Linked DNA regions of Homo sapiens: regions 1 and 3 are each linked to region 2. The links are contacts of gene promoters, found by promoter capture Hi-C in blood cells and fetal thymus (Javierre and others, 2016). All regions are on one chromosome and are shown on one strand. Each heading gives the region's core, a stretch centred on a gene start or on the middle of the fragment in contact. The rest is flanking DNA. Distances are from core to core; before and after follow the strand shown.

Region 1 (2,700 bases), core at 38-2,537, 290 kb after region 2:
TGGTACAAAAGCAATGGGGGGGGGGGCTAAAAATTTGCTGGTACTGCTGGGTGTGGTGGTGCACGCCTGTAGTCCCTGCTACTCAAGAGGCCAAGGCAGGAGGATTGCTTGAGCCCAGGAGTTTAAGGCTACAGTGAGCTATGATCTCACCACTGCAATCCAGCCTGGGCAACAGAGTGAGCTCCTGTTTCTAAAAAACAAACAAAGATAGCTGGTACCTCAGCACAGTATTAGGTAATGGTATCAAACTGTACTAGCAGTAAATGTATTCTTCCCCATTGGGCACTCAAAGCAGGAAAAGGCCGATTTTATTAAGAATCCTTGATGAAGCAGTAAAAATTAATTTTATTAAAACTTGACCCTTGAGTACAAGTGTTTTTAATATTCTATGTGAGGAAATGAGAAGGATACACAGAGCACTTCTGCTATATATCAAAGTACATTTGTTATCTCAAGGAGCATAGCTATTTTGGTTGCAAGCTGCATTGGCCTTTTTTGTTTTCATAGAACACCATTTTTACTTGAAAATAGCACTGACAGGCAAATGTTGGTAATTCAGATGTGGATATTTGGCAGACATTCTCTGGAGCCTGTCACTTGAAGGAAAACACCTGACAATATTTATTTCCAATGATAAAATTCAAAACCTTTGAGCAAAAATGAGAATTTTGGAAAATTGTATATATTCCTGGTTGACAGTTTTCTAAAAGCTTTAAAAACTTTTTTGATGAGATAAATCATGGTATTAATAAATGTGTTTTTTATATTATATAATAAAAATGTGTCAATATTTGAAAGATCTGCACAGTTCAGTGAACCAATGTTTTCCAAATGACCAATCATGATGTTACAAAATCATACATGTGTAAAAGATCCACTGAAAGTATATTAGGCCAGGCGCGGTGGCTCATGCCTGTAATCCCAACATTTTGGGAGGCCAAGGCAGGTGGATCACTTGAGGTCAGGAGTTCGAGACCAGACTGGCCAACATAGTGAAACCCCGTCTCTATTAACAATACAAAAATTAGCTGGGTATGGTGGTGAGCACCTGTAGTCCCAGCTACTCGGGAGGCTGAGGTATGAGAATCGCTTGAACCCAGGAGGCAGAGGTTACAGTGAGCTGAGATGGCACCACTGCACTCCAGCCTGGGCAACAGAGCGAGACTCCATCTAAAAAAAAAAAAAAGAAAGTACATAATAGGCCTGTAATCCCAGCACTTTGGGAGGCTGAGGCAGGAGGATCGCTTGAGCCCACGAGTTCCAGACCAGCCTGGGCAACATAGGGACACCCTGTCTCTACAAATAATTTTTTTTGATTAGGGCTGGGCACCGTGGCTCATGCCTATAATCCCAGCACTTTGGGAGGCCAAAGCTGGAGGATCACTTGAGCTCAGAAGTTCAAGATCAGCCTAGGCAACATGGCAAAACCCTGTCTCTACTAAAAATATAAAAAATTAGCTGGGTGTGGTGGCACATGCCTGTAGTCTGAGGTGGGAGGATCGCCTGAGCCCAGGAAGTCAAGGCTGAAATGAGCAGTGATTGCAGACACTGCACTCCACCCTGGGTAGCTGAGCAAGACCCTGTCTCAAAACAACAACACAGAATGAAAGTATGTGATAGACCAATGGATTTTAATATAACAGAGTATGGACATTTTATAGTTATGGTCTCAACCTTTAAGAAACTAACAGTTGTTGGATTTTGGTGTATTGAAGGGAATATCCAGTTTTCTGAAAAATCTGTTGAAGTATTTCTTCCTTTTCCAACTACATAGCTGTGTTGAGCCAGATTTTCTTCATATTCTTCAACCAAAACACTCATGGATTTGACTGAATACAGAAGCAGATATAAGAATCAAGCTTTTATAAAGCCAGACATTGAAGATGCCACTCTTCTCATTAAATTTTTTTGTTTTGAAAAAAATTTTTTTGGTCAGCTGTGGTGGCTCATGCTTGTAATCCCAGCACTTTGGGAAGCCGAGGCAGGCAGATTCACCTGAGGTCAGGAGTTCGAGACCAGCCTGGTCAACATGGTGAAACCCCGTCTCTACTAAAAATACAAAAATTAGCCAGGCATGGTGGCGTGCACCTGTAATCCCAACTACCTGGGAAGCTGAGGCAGGAGAATTGCTTGAACCCCAGCAGCTGAGGTTGCAGTGAGCCAAGATTGCATCATTGCCCTCCAGCCTGGGCAACAAGAGTGGAAACCCGTCTCAAAAAAAAAGAAAAAGAAAGAAAGAAAATGGCAGAGGAAGCCGGGCACAGTGGCTCACACCTGTAATCCCAGCACTTTGGGAGGCTGAGGTGGGCAGATTACTTGAGCTCAGGAGTTTGAGACCAGCCTGGCCAACATGGTGAAACTCCATCTCTACAAAAGATACAAAACTTAAATGAGCATGGTGGCAGGCGCCTATAGTCCCAGCTACTTGGGAGGTTAAGGTGGGAGGATCGCTTGAACCCAAGAAGCAGAGGTTGCAGTGAGCTGACATCCCACCAATGCACTCCAGCCTGGCTGACACAGCAAGACTGTCTCAAAAATAGATAGGGAAAATAGCAGAGGATCTAGTGAAGGAACATGGTCTAGTTTGCATCACTGCACATTATAATCCCCTTTGTAAGTGGATATATTAATGGAAGGTGAACAAACATGTCTCTGAAAACAACCTGGAGAAACCCCCCAAGGCCATGATTCTTCCCTTGG
Region 2 (2,700 bases), core at 126-2,625:
CACCCATAATGGATCCTGCCATTACTTCTCAAAAGTAGAGCTAAGAACAGGGTGCCAGCTTGGACACCCTCTGTCCCTGAGGACAGCAGAAGCCAGCCTTCATCTTCTGCTCTTGTCCCCTGCAGGCTGAGCTGCTGTACAAGAAGAACCCAAAGCTACTGAACCAGTTACAGTACTGTGAGGAGGCAGGCATCCCACTGGTGGCTATCATCGGCGAGCAGGAACTCAAGGATGGGGTCATCAAGCTCCGTTCAGTGACGAGCAGGGAAGAGGTGAGGGAGGTGGGCAGGAAGGCTAAGGGACAGAGAATGTATGCCATTTTGGCAGGCCCATGCCCATTCAAGACCTGAGAAAAAGCCTGGCATTGATATTAGTACAACTCATAAAAGCCTTGAGGGCTTAACCTGTTACTGTGGTCTTAGTAGGGTGAGATCTCCATCCCTGCATATACCTTATGGTTTGTTGGCTCCCCCAAGAGGCACACTCTAGCCTGAGGTGTTTAATTAGGTTCCTGCTCCCAGCTGAGACAAGCCTGATGCCTAGAGGGCTAGAGGAAACTAGGCACTCGGGGAGCAGTGGAATGGAAGATGCTTATACCACCTTCTTCTCCCATCCTGGCCAGGTGGATGTCCGAAGAGAAGACCTTGTGGAGGAAATCAAAAGGAGAACAGGCCAGCCCCTCTGCATCTGCTGAACTGAACAAACTATCAGAGGAAAGGAAGTGGGACTGGCACTATTTGAGGTTAAGACAAACTGCATATGTACTTCAATTGCTTTGCACTTTTCCGTTTCAGCGGAAGACCTGAAGAGTGGTCAGAACAGAGCCTTTGATTTTTATTATGGTTATTTTATTGATTATTACTGGCAAAAACGGCCAGGTACAACACCTTTTTCATACAAGGCCCAGGAGGCTTAGTCCAGTCTGTGCTCCTGGGCTACAAGGACCCAGCCTGAGATGGTCCCATCTGCAGGGCCCCGCACCAGTTGGAGCAGATGCCTCCCCACCACCAATTGCCAAAGGTCCAATAAAATGCCTCAACCACGGAGTCTGCGTGTGTCAGTGATGCCTAGCCCCGCCTTCCCCAGCAGACCAATGTAGGGATGGAAAAGGGAGAAAAACAGTAAACTTGTGACCCTGAGGTTCTTGTCTCCAGCGTCCACCCTGCGGCTTGGGAGCTCCTCCTCGGGAGGCAGCCCCCGTACATACGCACCCGCGACTTTGCAGCTTTCACCTGAAGGTCTGAGCGAAGCCCGGGCGGCGCACGTGCAGTGGATACCTCCACCCCCCTGGGAGGCGGGGTCGCGCTCAGAGCCAATGAGAGCTTGCGGGGTGGAGGGGTAGGGAAGCTTCCAGAGGCCGGTGGGGAGGAAGTTATAAAGAGGGTACGAGGGGGCCAGCTGGAGAGCCATGCAGTCCAAGCGGGATTGTGAGGTAAGCGGCTGGCGACTTGGGGGCCGGCGAGCCCCGCCGGAGCGGGGGTCGGCTTTAGGGACCCCAGTACCACAGGAGAGGTGGGGGCGCGCTTGGCGATCCGCCATTCCAACCTTCCTTTCCCTCTCAGCTGTGGTGTGAGAGGGTGAATCCAGAGAACAAGGCGGCGCTGGAGGCGTGGGTCAGGGAGACAGGCATCCGCCTGGTGCAGGTGAACGGGCAGAGGAAGTATGGCGGGCCACCCCCAGGTACGGTAGTCCCAGCCCCTCCGCCTGTCCGGCTACACCAGCCCCCTTTGGGGGAGGGGCTGCTCCGAGCCTTCACTGTCAGAAACTGCGAACTACCCGGATTTATACCCCCCAGCAAAGGAGGAACTGTGGCTCCACGTCCACCCGCCCCGTCGAGGGAGGGGGCCAATCTCAAGGTGTACCTACTCTGTGCCAGCCCCCTTGTTAGCGCAGTCACCTAATTATGCCAACCACCCAGGGTACGGGTGTAAACCCATTTCACAGACCTTTGTTCACATCGCCTCCCACCCCCGCGCGCTGGGTCCGTGGGCTCAGAATTCGAAAGCGTCGCCTGACGGTGGCCTTGCATACCCTCTTCCCACAGGCTGGGTGGGCAGCCCGCCGCCAGCTGGGTCAGAGGTGTTCATCGGGCGGCTGCCTCAGGACGTGTACGAGCACCAGCTTATCCCGCTGTTCCAGCGCGTGGGCCGCCTCTACGAGTTCCGCCTGATGATGACCTTCAGCGGCCTGAACCGCGGCTTCGCCTATGCCCGCTACAGCTCGAGGCGCGGCGCGCAGGCCGCCATCGCCACGCTGCACAACCATCCGCTGCGGCCGTCCTGCCCGCTGCTCGTGTGCCGCAGCACCGAGAAGTGTGAGCTGAGCGTTGACGGCCTGCCGCCGAATCTGACCCGCAGCGCGCTGCTGCTCGCGCTGCAGCCGCTGGGTCCCGGCTTGCAGGAGGCGCGGCTGCTGCCCAGCCCCGGACCGGCGCCCGGGCAGATCGCTCTGCTCAAATTCAGCTCGCACCGGGCCGCTGCCATGGCCAAAAAGGCCCTGGTGGAAGGTAGGCTGGGGCGGGGGTGCTGGTTGGGGCCAAACGCGTTCTGCCCGGCACTTTATACTGAGCATAGCTGTTAAAGTTACAAGATCTTAGAGTCAAACATGCCAGAATTTGCAACCTTTTACTATTTGATCTCAGATTTTTAAAACTTCCAATGGTGCTACCACCACCGCTTACCTAAATTTGTGACACTTCCC
Region 3 (2,700 bases), core at 119-2,618, 320 kb after region 2:
GGGCTGTGCAGGATTCACTTCTGGTCAGAGGGGAATGAGAAGGCAGCTGAATCCTCTCCCCCAGGGGGCACAGCTTCCCTCTGACCTCTGAGCCTGAGTTGCTTTTTTGGGTTGAGGTTTCCAAAACTCTGGGTGGCCTTGCAGATCTAGCATCTCTTTGATAAGCATGGCCATCTCCCAGAAAGGAACACTTCATCTCTGAGGATGGCTAGCTCATGATAAACCAACATTTTATTCAAGTTCCCACTTAAAAAGAAAAAGGAAAGAAAGCAAGAAAAAAATTTGGTCATAATAACCGCTGTCATTGAGTAAGTACCTACTATGTGCCAGGCATCATATTCCGCTTTATACACATGATCTGACTGAATCATCACAAAAGCCCTATAATAATAACTACTATTATTGTCCCCACTTTTCAGGTGAGCAAACTGTAGGTAAGAGAAATTGAATAACATGTTCAAAGTTAGAAAGAAAAAAAAACCAACAAAATTTGAACCCCCAAGTATCTGACTCCCAAGACTGTATCCATTTCATTAGCTGCCCTGCTGTGCTTACCTAAGCATCCTTCCAGTCTAGTGAGCCAGAGTTTCTTATTATCCCTCAGAACAGATGAAGGACTGAAACTCAGTAAAACTGATAATGTTACCCTCCACAGAAGCATAGAGATGGCGGCTGTCGTCTCATCCATTTGAGTGTTGAGCTTAGGAGAGCACAAGCCCAAGTGAACGAGGGGGTTTCAAATTGAGGCTGAGACACTCACTAGCTGGGTGACCTTGGGATGTTACCTTTTAAAGCTTCAATCCTTTAAAATGCAGATGATGATAACAGTGTCTAGTTTGGGGGATGTTGTGAGGATCAAGCAAGATAATGCATGTGCAGTGTTGATTACAGGGGAATTGTCACCACTAGCACCGCTTTCTTCCAGGTCCTCCCCACTGGGGAGCAAGTGCTCTCTCCAAATCAAGAACTCTGGCCTAGCAGTGAGTCAGCAGCACTCAGAGTCCCATGGAGCCTGCCTTTCCAGAGGCCCAGGAAACTCGCATGGGCTGGGAAGCAGGATGCCAGGGTTTCTGCTCTGCACTTGCCCCCTTCTGACTCACTGGTGGCCCAGGGCTAATCAGTCTCCAAGCCTCAGTTTGCTCATGGTCAATAGACAGTCAATAAAAGCAGGCTTGTCTGTCTGAACTCTACTTCCTTAGGACTATGTTCCTGGCATTTGACAACCTGACATCCAGAGAGCAGGTGGGGGAGACCTGAGCAGGAGGAGGGGACAATATGGAGGAATCCTGCATGACAGTGCTGTCTCATTGACATCTCATATGATTCTGACAATAATGGGGCATAAAATCCAGTGTCTACCTTGGCTTATAACGTCCTCTTTTATCTGTTGCTAGCCTTTGTTCCAATATCATCCCATATCTCTCCTTTTTTGGCCCTCTTGCTTTTCCTTGAATGCTCCCAACTTTTTTCCATTTCAGAGTCTTTGCACTATTTGCACATCTTGGAATGCTTTTGTCATAGATGATCCCAAATCTGATTTCTTCTTCTCATTCAGGCCTCAGCTTACATGTCACCTGCTCAGAGAAGGCTTTGCTAATCAGTTTAAAGTGTCATCCTGGGCACTGGAACATATTATCCTACAGCACATCATTGTATTTTAACTTTCATCTTAGCAGTTATCACTATAGGATATGTTTTTCCTTGTTTATTTCCTTAATGTGCTGCCTGTCTACTATAGAATATAAGCTCTGTGAAAGCAGGTCCTGGGCTGTCTTATTTATTTCTATGTCCCCAGTGCCCCCCAAAAATGTTCAGTTAATGTTTATGATATAATTGAGTTAATGAGATTGCCTCAGCATGAATTGTGATTCCTTTTCTTTGCTCAGAGACATCCAAGATTCTGAGAGGGGAAGTGACTGTCCCAAATCCAATTCAAGCTTTTTATCTTCTTTTTTCAGGCCCTTCCTGTAAAACCTGGCTGACACACAAACCTAGCTGGGGTGAGGCTCCAGGTGTGATGAAAGTTTGGAGTTGCCCCATGAATGGGACTGAGGCTGATGTGGGGGTGAGAAGGCGGAAGGACAGAGCATGTGAAGGGAGAAAGGCAGGCTGGGGCAAGAGAGCAGGGTGTGACTCTGGCGAGGGTGGGGGAAAGGGGGTGATTTGACCATGTGTCAGGAAGTGTTTCTCTCCACCCTCCCCTGGGGAGAGCCTTGACCCCAAGGTGGCTTTGTTTTGGGGAAGCAGGTGGCCAGGCAGCTGCTGAGGGAGGGCAAAGTCATGGCTTGGGCGGTGACCATGCACTGAGGTCCTAGGCCCGATACTCATCACCCAAAAGGATAATCTAACAGTGGCTCTTAGCCAAATAGGTGACAGGTGAGCTTCTGTCTGAAACCAGCCCAACTATATCATAAAGCCTCAGATATGGCCTAGGGGAAGGCAAGCGATCTAGAGAAGTGAGAGAAAAGAGGCCTCTAAGGAAATAGAGTGGTCAAGTGCTTAGTGATTATTATTAACAGCAACAATAATAATGGGTCACATTTATTGAGAGCTTATAGTGTGCCTGGCACTATACTAACTACTTTTATGTGTTCCCGCATTCATTTCTCAAAAAGCTCCCTACAAAGTAGTCATTATTATTATTGTTATTATTTTTTCCATTTGAGAGACGTCAAAACTGAGGCTCAGTGAAATTAAGTT

The links. Contacts are between HindIII fragments. The CHiCAGO score rates a contact against its expected background, and 5 or more counts as called.
Region 1: a contact is called between a fragment that was not itself captured here and the fragment with the promoter of DND1 in region 2, in 11 of 17 cell types (neutrophils, total CD4 T cells, activated CD4 T cells and 8 more). The highest score is 7.6, in neutrophils.
Region 3: a fragment that was not itself captured here is called in contact with the fragment with the promoter of DND1 in region 2 in 5 of 17 cell types (fetal thymus, erythroblasts, naive B cells and 2 more); the score reaches 7.8 in fetal thymus.

What each region holds. Positions count from the first base shown.
Region 1 is chr5:140,385,702-140,388,401 of GRCh38, reverse strand. The region is part of intron 1 of ANKHD1-DT (ANKHD1 divergent transcript); the gene reads left to right. LOC124901087 (a long non-coding RNA gene) reads right to left here. Exons shown (of 2, transcript XR_007058967.1): 2 at 1,613-1,829. Among named protein-coding and RNA genes, the nearest start is that of ANKHD1-DT, 14 kb to the left of the region's middle. The HindIII fragment of the contact is 1,149 bases long and covers 713-1,861 here.
Region 2 is chr5:140,672,251-140,674,950 of GRCh38, reverse strand. It overlaps DND1 (DND microRNA-mediated repression inhibitor 1), which reads left to right and starts at 1,375. Exons shown (of 4, transcript NM_194249.3): 1 at 1,375-1,432; 2 at 1,563-1,680; 3 at 2,045-2,506. The coding sequence starts at 1,409. WDR55 (WD repeat domain 55) reads right to left here. Exons shown (of 7, transcript NM_017706.5): 7 at 2,606-2,700. HARS1 (histidyl-tRNA synthetase 1) reads left to right here. Exons shown (of 13, transcript NM_002109.6): 12 at 126-272; 13 at 623-1,046. The coding sequence ends at 694. RefSeq lists enhancers at 910-1,705, 1,706-2,501. The HindIII fragment of the contact is 8,462 bases long and covers 1,350-2,700 here.
Region 3 is chr5:140,347,799-140,350,498 of GRCh38, reverse strand. No RefSeq gene overlaps it. Among named protein-coding and RNA genes, the nearest start is that of HBEGF, 2.5 kb to the right of the region's middle. The HindIII fragment of the contact is 1,143 bases long and covers 797-1,939 here.